Regions from separate parts of the Homo sapiens genome. Here region 1 is linked to region 2. Evidence: promoter capture Hi-C in human tissues and cell types (Jung and others, 2019). All regions are on one chromosome and are shown on one strand. Each heading gives the region's core, a stretch centred on a gene start or on the middle of the fragment in contact. The rest is flanking DNA. Distances are from core to core; before and after follow the strand shown.

What was found. The method cuts DNA at HindIII sites, captures the fragments that hold promoters and counts their contacts. A contact is called where the count stands out against the background at its distance.
Region 1: a fragment that was not itself captured here is called in contact with the fragment with the promoter of TMEM184C in region 2 in 1 of the 25 tissues and cell types used here (heart right ventricle).

What each region holds. Positions count from the first base shown.
Region 1 is chr4:148,639,661-148,646,174 of GRCh38, reverse strand. All of the region lies in intron 2 of LOC107986195 (a long non-coding RNA gene), which reads right to left. All of the region lies in intron 1 of LOC105377483 (a long non-coding RNA gene), which reads left to right. Among named protein-coding and RNA genes, the nearest start is that of NR3C2, 200 kb to the right of the region's middle. The HindIII fragment of the contact is 6,484 bases long and covers 1-5,588 here.
Region 2 is chr4:147,612,414-147,618,938 of GRCh38, reverse strand. TMEM184C (transmembrane protein 184C) reads right to left here and starts at 1,542. Exons shown (of 10, transcript NM_018241.3): 1 at 860-1,542. The coding sequence starts at 982. It overlaps TMEM184C-DT (TMEM184C divergent transcript), which reads left to right and starts at 1,694. Exons shown (of 2, transcript NR_186679.1): 1 at 1,694-1,851. RefSeq lists enhancers at 1,123-1,172, 1,203-1,322. The HindIII fragment of the contact is 7,307 bases long and covers 1-2,295 here.

The DNA.
Region 1 (6,514 bases), core at 1,097-3,596, 1.0 Mb before region 2:
TACATTTTGCTTTTAAGATTATAACATAGATTTCTAAAATAATCTGTATTAATTTTTAAAGGCTATAGAACTCAGCAGAGGTATGGGAAGGCCAAGTTTTGGGGGAAACACACAGAGGAAATAGTAGAAAACAGGAATGAGCCTGACCTCAAGCTTCACCCAAAGGGAAAATAGCGTTCTGTTGTTTCCTATCTGCCTGTCTACACAACCCACAATCAACACAGACTATGTGCTCTCATAGGAAAAAGGGAGGGAAGAAGTTCAGGATCATGAGCCTATCAGATAAATTTAGTGACAGGCATGGCACCAGCCAACAATGTAGAGAGAAGGGCACCAGAGTTAAGATTAAGAGGGGAAATAGGCTTCTTTTCAGGGCCAGGACAGATGGGGGGCAGAAAGAAAATTCCTCTGAGTGACAGCTTTGTTACCAGAAGTCAATGTGGTGGGTCCCTATCAAAGAGTGAGAAGAGGAGATCTCTTTAAGAAAAAAACACTTCACTGTGATACCATCACAGGTCAAAGCCACGTAATAAATGAGCCACAGGTAAACTAGGCATATTGTTGAGGTCATTTCTATTCAAGAATTTCAATTATTCTTGCCTTCTATTATTTAGTTGTTTAGATAAGATTATAAATAGACCTTGTTTCCAGGGAGAATCTATTACTCAAAGACACTTTTAGCAAAATCCTACTGATAAAGAATAAATCCCAACTGTTTAATTCTGAAGAGATTTTACATTTTTAAGCTCATTCATCTATTCATTCAGTCAGCAAGTATTGATCCATACCATGTGCAGGGTACTGACCTGGGTGCTGGAAGATACAACAGTGAGCAAAACAGATAAAAAGTGTCTGCCAGCCGGGCATGGTGGCTCATGCCTATAATCCCAGCACTATGGGAGGCCGAGGAGGGTGGATCACCTGAAGTCAGGAGTTCGAGACCAGCCTGGCCAACATGGTGAAACCCCATCTCTACTAAAAATACAAAACTTAGCCAGGGATGGTGGCACACACCTGTAATCCCAGCTACCCGGGAGGCTGAGGTGGGAGGATCACTTGAACCTGGGAGATGGAGGTTGCAGTGAGCCAAGATCGCACCACTGCACTCCAGGGTGGGCGACAGAGCGAGACTCCATCTCAAAAAAAAAAAAAAAGTGTCTGCTATCAGAGAGCTTACATGCTAGTTTTATGATAAATGAAGATTCATCTGCAAAAAAATTAATTTCCAAAAAGGCTTTTTATAAGGTGTCAATCCTGAACTTCAGTATTTATAAATATGTAAGATTTAGGATGCCATCCAGATAGCTTCAATATTATGTAAATTTAAAGAGAATATATGACATAGGCCAGGCACAGTGGCTCATGCCTGTAATCCCAGCACTTTGAGAGGCCGAGGCAGGAGGATCACTTGAGGCCAGGAGTTAGAGAACATCCTGGGCAACAAAGTGAGACCCCATCTCAACAAATAATCAAAAACATAGCCAGGCATGTTGGTGCATGCCTGTAGTCCTAGCTACATGGGAGGCTGAGGCAGAAAGATTGCTTGAGCCCAGAAGGCTGAGGCTGTAGTAAGCCATGTTCACACTACTGCACTCCAGCCTGGGCCACAGAGGCCCTGTCTCAAAAATAAATAAATAAATAAATAAATAAATAAATAAATAAATAAATACATAAATACATAAATAAATAATATGGATTCACAGACTGATGAATAAATTGTCCTCTTAAAGATATATCAGATAAATTTGACTTGTGCTGTTTTTATTTTGCCTTACATTTTTGGGCTTGTATGTGTTTAAACTACTTAAAGCTATTATTTAGAGCACAAAGATAAAAGACAAAGTGAATACAAGAAATGTAAGCTATATACCATGAAAAGCAACAGGATTTTGTCCTGCTGTTCTATTAATTCACACCTATTTGACTGAAAAGCTGAAACTCGTCTTTGAATGTGTTTTACATAATATATAAGAAATTTCTACCTCATCACAGAGGTTCCAAATATTGTCAACTGAACATATATCTGGATACTTCTGTAAGTCTGTTGGAAGTTCTTAATTCAGGAAATAAAAACATGACACATAAGTGTCTACTGAGGGCTAGAGGAAATTACCCAATTAAAAGAAAGAATACAATACTCTGGAGAAAAGGAAGTGCCAAGATGTCAAAATCTCTCTCAAGTAGAATCTTATGGATACAGCTCAGCTTTGCTAAATAGAATGACAGAGGATTTGGGTATGATTTCAACTTTTAATAGATGTTTTCCTCTAAAAGGGATAACTCGAGTCTATGAAAAAAAGATAGTAGATAAAAATTTGAGTGAAATAAACTTAGTGAAATGTAATATGTAAATGGGAAAAAAATTTAATACAATTTGATTAATTTTGACTCCACTAATTCAGAATTTCAGAAAGATTCATGAGGCATACACTAAAGTTTACCTTTGTTGTAATTTGGGGGAAATGATCTTCTAGGTCAATGTTTCCCAAACTTCAATGTTCACAGGAATCACCAGAAGATCTCATTAAAATTCAGATTCTGACTCAGTAGCTCTGCAGTGGGCCCCAAGATTCAGCATTTCTGCCAACTTTAATTGAGATACTTCTGCTACTGGTCTAAAACATGCTTTGAGTATCAAGAATTCAAGTAAATCAGCAAGGTCACTTGCAAAAGAAATGATCAACCAACAAACGCACACTTTCACAATACCCTTTGGGGAAAAATGACTACTTACGAACGACTCTATGTTGTTCATTGAAACAGTTGTGGTAGGAGTTCTACTTGGCAAGATGGTGTAAACAGCTAATTGGAGTTAATTCACATTGTTAAAAATGCAAACAAAGGTTTTCTTTAAAAAATACTCTACTGTGCCAATTTTTCATTCTAGTTTCTCTTCATTTATATAACCTTCATTTTAATTAACAAACATGGAATTTGGACATCTGAAATCAAAAGAGAGTGATACGATTATCCATCTTTAATTCTTCTTGAGTCATTTTCCTATCATGTTTGAGATCTCCCCACTTACTTACTTATTCATTTACTAAGAAAAACAGGAAAATGCTGATGAGAGCAAATTTGAGAGAGATAAATTAAATAGAGATCATAAGATGTCCCTTCCTCCCTCATTCCACCCCACACCTGGTGAGATATACAGTTAAGTTTTTTAAAGCTAAATGTTATTATATAGCCCAAACTGTAAATAATAATGCATTAAGAGCTTCAATGTGGTATTTTTTATGGGTCACTACCGTGGCTGGCAATTAGCTGAGGCTATCCAAAAGACTTTGATGTACCTTGGTCCTATTTGCAGGACATGCTAAAGAAACATAGATCCTGCAGTATATCTGTCGATATTCACCAATGATTTGGTTTCTGGTGTCAAATGAAGAGTCCCTCCACTAGAGGAAAATAGCAGCAGAGGACAGAGGTGAAGGTACAACATCAGGAGTACACAGCAAGACATCTGGAGTGCAGTAAGAGAGAGTCCAGGGGAACAGCAAGAGACAGGAAGATGAGGGAAAAAGAGAGAAGTACAAAGATGCATCATTTAAGAAACAGAAAAGGAAAGCAGAGAAAAAAAGATTTTGAGAAAAACCAAAGTTTGACAAAAAGCAAAACTTTGAGAAAAGCCAAAGTTTTAGCCATACAAACTGCCTTGTGTCTGGAAAAGGAGGTACCCCAAGCTGCACAGAACACATGTAACACCAGTACCATCCAAGATGGCAGAGAGATTCCCACGTACCAGCATATTATCTGGGTGGAAAGCACTTTCCTGCTTCAAAGATGCATGGATTATTTAGTTTCCTGCCATGAAACAATCCAATAATAATTGACTACTCTGTGTCTGAGTCTGTGTTCACTAAGCAAATTTTCTTTTCTCTGGAGGAAAAAAAAAGTCTAACAAAATAAACCCTGCAGTAAACTTGACATTTGTATTTCTCATTATAATTTAATAAATTGGCACAGATGGAAAAAGAAAGATGCAAGGAGGGGTGGAGGAGGAAGAGAAAGAGCCCAGAGATAAACCATGGCTTCAGCTATCCCTCTTAGGAGTAAATTGGGTATAGAAACCAGGATTTGCCAAGTAAAGTGTAGCCTTGGTAGATCAAACTTCACAAAGTGGGAGCTAAATTAAATACCAGATGAACATAATCAGACCAGAAATCAAAAGAAAACTATTGGGCATAAGAGTTAGAAAAATTTGAGTAGGAGCCAAAATAGAAAAAAAAATACATAGAGGAATCAAAATTGAAAAAGCAAAGAGAACTGAGGTTCAAGAAAAGAAAGTATGATGTAAAATAAGCTGTAAATGTGGACGTACTTCACTCATAACATTCTTTTTATGGGAATTCCAGTGTGATTCCAAGAGTTCAGAATGGATCTAAAAGAAAACTCTGAGACCTAATATCTTAAAGTTCTTTTATTTCCAGCCTAGAGACTACCAAAACTTCACAGGACATCTAAAGCCACTTCCAGCTGGCAGAGGTGGCCATTTTTTCCCATGCATGCAGGAACAGAGTGGTGAGTCTCCAGCCTTGCACAGTTCTCCATCCCATTGCTCCAATCCAAGACCTAGCTCTGCTGGAAAGATCAGGGACCATATAAAAGTAGAACAGACAGAAGACATAATAGCTCCCTTAAGATACCTTAACAAGCCATATGTTCTGACCCTGAGACCATTATTACGTTTGGATGAGTGGTCCCAGTCTCAAATAAAAAGGAAAGAAAGCATTTGGGGCTACTGAGGAATTTCCTTGAGTATGTATCTTCTATAAATTGGATCTTCCAAGAACCATGCTGGGGATGAAGAGCAATGGTGCTGCTGTCAGTCTTTGCTTAAGCTGAGTAAGTCAGTACTTCTGATGATTCTTATGTTTACTAAGGAGTCTTCTAGACTGATATTCCTTCAAGATAGAAGAAAAAAATAATCACCAGGATTACTTTAGCCCTTAGCAAGTCAGAGCTGGTGGGTGATCCTGTAAGTTACTTGATGTCTTTTCTCAGCATTTTTTACTAGTTGACAAGAATCTACACCTGAAGACATCAATTTCTACTCACCCTTCACTCTCTCATTAAGGATGCAATACTCTGCTTTGACTGATCTTTATACCTCTTTTAGTGACTAATGATCTGTTGGTGAATTGAAAATATAGGCCCTGTCCAGCCCTGAAAAAGACATTCCCTGGAAATGCACTAAAATAAAATACTCATATGAGCACAATGATCTTATAAATCTCAGTATGTATGTCTTTAATACTCACCAAGATATTTTGTAATAAAAGCAACACTCAATCTTTTCCAACAAGCACTAATGGTAAAGTTAACAATAAGAACCACAGAGGTCTCAAGAGGAAAGTTGCAAAAAGAAATGAGAACTCTGCTCCCAGGGCTTTCCCTAAGCAAAAGCGTGAAGACAGGGAAGTTTTTCTTTGGGCCCTACCAAGAACCTCACTGTTTCTAGGTCCTTCTTTCAGCCTTGCCCTGTGAGTTCCACATCCCCACTGCCACCCATGCTCCATGCTTCTACCTGCATCTTGGTGGCCCATAGCACACTTGCACTCTTAGAGAAGTTCCATTTAAGTGGAGCTTCCTTGGGCAGTGTCCTACCTAAGGGTAGGACATGGGGAAAAGCAAGGTGAAAATCAACATGCCTGTCCAGAAACAAAATTCTGACGATCCAAATTATTAAGCCCTCAATAAAACTAGTGTGTGTTGTCAGAAGTCAAAATAGTGTTTACCTTTAGGTAGGTGGTTAGTGATTGGAAGTGAGCATGGTGGGCTTCGGGGTATTGGTAGTTTTCTATTGTTGACCACTGCTGGTTCCAAGGGTATGTTCACTTCATGAAAATTCATTATAGTAAGTGAGCTATACACTTAATTGTGCCTTTTATTGTATGTATAATACAGCAAGAGAATGTTAAAATAGAATATAATGGCCTTAGGAATAATACAATGCAAGAGATCGAAGAAGGTCAGAATAATTCAAAACATAATCAACATTACCTAGACATTTTAAGAAAAAGCAGAATGACATCTGATGACACTATTCCTTGCAAATATTTTTCCCAGTCCATCCTTGCTGGGAAGTATAGTTTTTAAAAGGTTTTCACCAGCCTCAAGCTGGCTTTCAATGTCTTGATTTTGTGGGATGTCTAAAGAAAAGGAGTTAGAGAATGTCTCTAGCATTGTCCTGTGAAGAGGGCAAGCATTGCTCAATTGGATCATTTGAGCCAGAGGCCACTGGTTGATTGGATTATCCATCCAATTCCCCTGGTTCAGAGTCTCATACTTAGCAAGCCATCCATAAAGAGAGAACCAAAATTACATTTATTATTCTAAATTAATAATGTCCTAATTTTACATAAATCTCTGTGGAGTACCAATCTTTTATCAATAGGAGGATCCTTTATAATCTAAAAAAAAAACTTATCAAATTATCACATAACAGTAACCGTAATTTTTTGTTTAGCAACTGTGTTTGCAGTAACAATGTCCACAGTAGGCTGGGACA
Region 2 (6,525 bases), core at 293-2,792:
GAGATCTCGCCATTGCACTCCAGCCTGGGCAACAGGAGCAAAACTCCGTCTCATAAACAAACAAACAAAAAACTATATGGACTATGCTAGTATGGGAAAGTCATCAGAAAATAATTTAGTGTAAATAGAGAACACAAATGTATATTAAATACAGTTTATGTAAAAATCATTTCCACAATAAAGAAGGGCCTAAAATAGTCATGGTCTTATTATAGTTCTTGTAATAGGTGTTCCTCTGTAAAAGTACTTGGTGGGTTTTATTAACTCCGAATTTAAAGTTCATTATATAATATTTATATCTGAGTTATTTACCTTGGGGTTTTCCAGCTTGTAGTACATTACTGATGTCACAATAAGCATATGACATCAAAAAATATATATAAGGGACTTTTTGCAAAACCTTTGTTGGGTAAGAGCTAATTTCCACAGTAAAAACAGACACCAAAGTTAAAACAACTAGAACGCTTTGATTCAAGAAGCTAGTTAAAAGCTAATAAAATTCAATACATGGTTTTCAAGGTAGTTTATTTGACCTAGTTTCGTCCAATGTCTGAACAGATCAGATTTCAGCAATAAAATTACCTTACTTTCAGGGAACTGATGAATACTTGCAAAACAGTGCCCTTCTAAGCAGCTATATTAATATATTCTATTTTCTCGACCCGGTCCCACCTCCACCTGTAGCATGACTTGAAGAACCGTGAACAAGAAATTAGACAGGTTTATATCCTAAGAGTAGGCTCGTTTACATTAGATGGTTTTCAGGACTGTCAGGGCAGAAATGGGGTAAGGGTGTCTCTTTCCCAACCATAGATGGGTAGAAGAAAGTGTACAGGCTGATGGTGCAGAACCCTCTTACCTCCAGTTTCTGTAATTCCCACACGCATAGGGGAACCGCAACCACTATTGACACCAGGTAGATGACCGCTACTAAAGGTCGAATCCACTGTCTCCAGTTCCTCCAGGTACAAGTGCAAGGCATGTTTTCGCACAAATCAGATCCGGTTAGCAAGGGAAAAGATCTCGAAAAGATTGTAATGGGGAGCCCTGTTCTCTGGCTGTTTTGTCAACTCGCATACTACGGAGAAAAAGCTGTCGGGCGACTTTACGAACAGCTCGAGCCGCCTCCTGGACCGGCGCTGTGTCTTCTGCTGCTGCTGCTTCTGCAAATGTAGCCTCTCAGGGTGCTATTGGCGAGCAGTGCAGGCAACATCCTTTCTTCTCCACCCCGCATCTACCCGGTTGTACTGCGGTGGAATCCCAGGCAGAGCCGCTGCCCTCACCTGGGGATCGCCCTGAGCTCTGCCTGTACCATGGCTTCCAGGAGAGCAGCACAGACCAGGAACCGGCCTCTAGGGACCCTGCACACTCCGGTTCTGTCTCGCAGCTGCCTGCCCACTCGCTCTTTTCTTTGGGGATCGAGCTTCCTACCTCCCGCACTGGCAGGCGTCTCTTCAGTCGATTCCGCTAGTAGGTAAGGCCCCAGGATCTCCTCATTCTTTCGCACGGGACCTCCCCTACAGCGGAACCCAAGGCCAAACCAAGACTTTCAGCTCTTTTCCGCTTCCGCCCCTGCTGTCTGAGGCAGGTGATTCGTCGTCAGCGCCAAACTGGGCCCGCCCCATCCGACTCACTTTGCGCCCTCTGATTGGTCAGCTGTGGGGGCGGGGCTGCAGGATTGCGTACTGGGGTTAGAAAGAAGAGCAGGTGCGTGGAAGTGGGTGGAATTGCCGCAGATGGTCCAGCGGGCTATTGCAAGGATTCTGGAAGCTGCGGGAATTATTTGAGGACACTTGAAGCACACCTACTACATTCTTCTGCTGGCGTTATTCCAGTTTAAAGAAAGCTTGGGTAAGGGGCGGTTACTTCAGAGTTGGACTGGAAGAGAGAAGGCCCATCTCTACACAAAACATCCCCTATTCAATCTAGAGTGGATACAGAAGCCCGCTGGAGTAAGAAGACAAGGAAGAATGGGAAACCTCCACCTAGTTTTCTGTCAGTTGCTAGAATCTAGGGGCTAGGCCGCTTGGTTATTTCTGGATCCTACAGAAGGATCATTCTAAAGGTAGCTTCATTTTAGAATTAACCGCAAATAGGGAATGTCCCTTCTACATTTGGAACTTGTGTTAAAAATTTGCACTCATTTAAGTTTTAAAAAGTTGACATTCCATCTGACAAAGGAGTTTCATATGCTTAAAGCCTTTAGCTAAACCAATAGAGTAAACAAATATCTACTACTCAATTACATATACAAATGCGTTTTATATTGTAATTGTAATTTTCAGGGGGACAGGCACTGTACTAAGTTCATTACCTACATTATGTAAGTTGTTCTGCACAAAAATTTTGAGAGGTAGGCATTTTTCCACTTTACAGATAAAAAAGTCAAGTGGCTGATAAATTTGCCCAGGCTCACTGAGCTAGTTAAGTGGTAGTGTGGAGATAGCAACCTTGGTCTTTGTGACTCCAAAGGGCATTATATTTAAGCATTTGACCTGCTAGTACCTGCCACCTGGGGAATTTCCGCCTAATGACCATACGGATAAGGAGGCTTGTAACATTGAGTACACCTAGCCCAGGAGTCTCACAGAGACACCTAAGGAATATTATGAGCCCCTTTTTTGGTATCGTCTGTTTGGACTTGACTTCACTGCCTACTTCTCAGTTGTTAACATTTGTATTTTACAACCTGACCCAAACTACTTTCTACCGGAAAAATAGGCCTTATGTTTGTTCTTCCTAAGCTTACTTTAAAAATGGAAATTAAGGCTGGGTGCAGGGGCTCATGCCTGTAATCCCAGCAGTTTGGGAGGCGGAGGTGGGCGGATCATGAGGTCAGGAAATCGAGACTATCCTGGCTAACACAGTGAAACTCCGTCTCTACCAAAAATACAAAAAATTAGCCAGTTGTGGTGGCGGGAGCCTGTAGTCCCAGGTACTCAGGAGGCTGAGGCAGGAGAATGGCGTGAACCCGGGAGGCGGAGCTTGCAGTGAGCCGAGATCAAGCCACTGCACTCCAGCCTGGGCGACAGAGCGAGACTCTGTCTCAAAAAATAAATAAATAAATAAATAAATAAAATTAATTAAAAAAAATTCCTGATCATTAAATTAATGCTTGCTCTGTTGTTAAAGTTCATAAAAAAGAAGAATAATGAAGAGAAAGTTAATTTTACTCTACGGCCAAGTATAACTACTCTTTACTTGTTTGGTACACAGTAGAGGCTATCTTGGATATGCCGTATGCGTAGATTGTCTCTGTGCTTTCAGCTACAGCGTTTTTGCTGCCTATAATCTTTCCCATTCTTTCTCATGGGCAAACTTTTTTTGCCTAATTTGTGAGACCTTCCTTTATTTTTGTTTCCCCATGTATTCTTACAGCATTTATATGGTATTATACTCATTTACTTATTTGTCTTGTTTAGATTTTGAATTCCTAAAGCAAAAATCTAAATCCATTAGAAAAAAGCAAAAGAGAGAAGAGATGAGACAGATGCACAAATGATTTCACATACCAGTTTGCGAACTGGAATTCTTCTATGGTGAAATTTCTTCAGCTCAGCAGAGAAATTAAAAACAAAATTACAGATTGAGTATGCCAAATCTGAAAATCTGAAATTCAGAATGCTCCCAAATCCAAAACTTTTTGAGTACTTATATGATGCTCAAAGGAAATGCTCCTTGAAACACTTCAGATTTTGGATTTTCAGATTTGAGATGCTCAACTGGTATGTATAATGCAAATGTTCCCCAATCTGAAAAAATCTGAAATCCAGAACACTTCTGGTCCAAAGCATTTCAGATGAGATATATGAATTTTTCATTTAGTTAAATTTCTTCACTCTTAAGGACCATGTTTTATTTTGAAATTGTCTATCCTATTTTTTAATATGATAATAGATAGTAGTTGTTCTTCAGATATTTTTACTTTGGAGAATAAAAAGTTGATAGCTTTATTTGCCTACCATTTGTTTCATTTTTTTCTCTTGACCTGTAAGATCCTAAAGTCTAGTAAGGATAGGGAATAGGCCATAATGCTGATGTGATCCTAATCTACTTGCTTTGCTTGCTATAGGCATTCTCTGCATTCTTTCTGGATATGAGAGCCTAAGCCTGAAGGTGGATCTGAGCTTGATGGTGTTTGAAAAATAAGAAATGGTTAAAATTGGCAGATGGTGCTAGGGTCAAAAACAAGCTATTAGTCAATTTTGATGCAAGTTATAGAGGTTAATTGAAGTTTGTTACTGCTGCATCACATGCAAATAGGTGGAATTTGCTATTATTGAAGGATAAGTTTGGATTAATCTGAATTAAGATAATAGATTAAATGCACTTTGAGGGATCCTGGGGGATGGACACTGTTAACCCTTTGCCATGTATCTCCATTTCTCTATAAATATGTCCATGGTAGTTTTAAAACCTGGCTGCAACTTCTTTGATACTCATCTGATAACAAAATAGAGTCTGTGTTCCCTCTCTTTACATGTATGTGGGCTTGTGATTGATTTTAACCAATAGAAGTTGGTGAAAATGGTCACAGTCACCATATGTGACTTCTGAGGCTAGGTCATAAAAGACCATGCAGTACCACCTTGTCTGCTGGAACATTTACCTTTTGGAACTCCCAGCCTTCCTGTGAGAAGTTCCACTGCCTGAGGCTGGCATTTTGTGAGAAAGCCCAAGACAGACAGAGAGACCCTTTGAAGGTAATACTGATCAACAGTCACAGCTGAGCCCAGGCTTTGAGTCAGCCCAGCCTAGGTGCCAGTCACGTGAGCTGAGAAGCTGATTCCAGCTCCTAGCCATTCTCGCCGCTCAGCCATTTGGGTCATCCCAGCCGAGGCCCTCATCATGGCCAGAGACATACAATGCCTGCTCTGCCTTGTCCTAAGTCCTGACCTGAAGAATTCATGAGGGTAATGATTGTCGTTTTACTTCAGTGAGTTTAGGGTTGTTTGTTACACATCTCTTCCAGTGAATAGATAACTGAAACAGTTGTCTTTTGTCTATACATTTATGTACGATTTATCTAATCTGAAAGAAGTTTCTTGCTTATAGTGACTTTTTTTTTGCCTGCAGCCTACATACAGTCCGTTAGGTTTTTCTTTTTTTAGGGATAGGTTGGCTCCAGAGTCTGAGATTGTGCTAACTAATCCATGAGTTAAGTGAGTTTTAGATTTAAAGGTTGCAAGCATGCAGGGGAGAGATCTGAGTCTTTACAGTATGCTTAATTTTCCAATGTTTCCTTTTTTCTCCTTTCCAACACATGGGAGGGGAAATGGTCTACTGTGTACCAAATGAGTGCAGAAGAAAATAAAAGTAGCACAAGTGGTAAAATTAAACTTTCAAATCTGAACCTTTAAGCTGTTTCTGTCCACTTCTAAGCTTCAACTTTACCTACCACTGTATTTCAGTGGCATTAACTGCATTTACATTTTGCAACTATCACCCCTATCATCCTCAGAACTTTTTTATCACCCAAAGAGAAAATGTGTACTCATGAAACAGCTCCCCATTAGCCCTTGCCTCTGGCCCTGGTAACCATTGTTCTGCTTTCTCTCTTTATGAATTTGACTATTCTTGGTAACTCATATATGGAATAATATAATATTTGCCCTTTTGTGTCTGGCTTATTTCACTTAGCTTGATGTTTTCTAATTTCATCCATGTTGTATCATACATCAGAATTTCATTCCTTTTTAAGGTTGAATGATATTCCTTTATGTGTATATGCCACATTTTGTTTATCCATTCATCTATTGATATGACACTAGGTTTCCACCCTTTGCCTATTGTGAATAATGCTGCTGTGAACATGGGTGTACAAATATCTGCTCAAGTGCCTGCTTTCAGTTGGTTTCTACATTTTTAAAGAGTTGTAAAAGAATATTTTAAAATATTTACTATGGAACTTTTATAGAAAAAGTTTACCAACCCCTGATTTAGAGTAAATTTTAAAATTTTGATAATGGGCTATTATGAAGTTGCTGAGTGAATCTTTCCATAAAGTTCATTCATTTCTTCATGAGGAAGGTGATACTTAAGTCTTAGTAGAGTTTCTCTAAATATTTGAGGAACTCTGTTTGGTCCCAAGACCAACACTGAAAAATTACTGCTTTGTTTTTGTTATTAAGGAAGAACGAAATTCGCTGGTTTGAAAGCAAGATTCAGTGATTTTAAGGGGCTCCTGCAGTGAATTTAGAATGAGAGCGCACAAGAGTTTTTAGAGCTAGCATTGAGCTATGAAAAGGCCCCACTGTGTATAATTAGGTATGCAGAAGCTAGAGGCACTGTCCTTTCCACTTTTCATCTGCTACTCTAATTTTACTCTGAGTAGGCAATGTCCTTTGAATCCTAGCATGTCCCTAAGGCAGAAGTTTCCAAACTTTCTTGTTTCATGGTGCCCTTAGAATCTCACTAGTTTTTTCATGGTGTCCCTTAGCCAAAGAAATTCTAATAGTTTCACTTATTAAGTAATTAGTTCCAAACACCTAATTACAGACATTCGCATACGATCTGACAGATGTT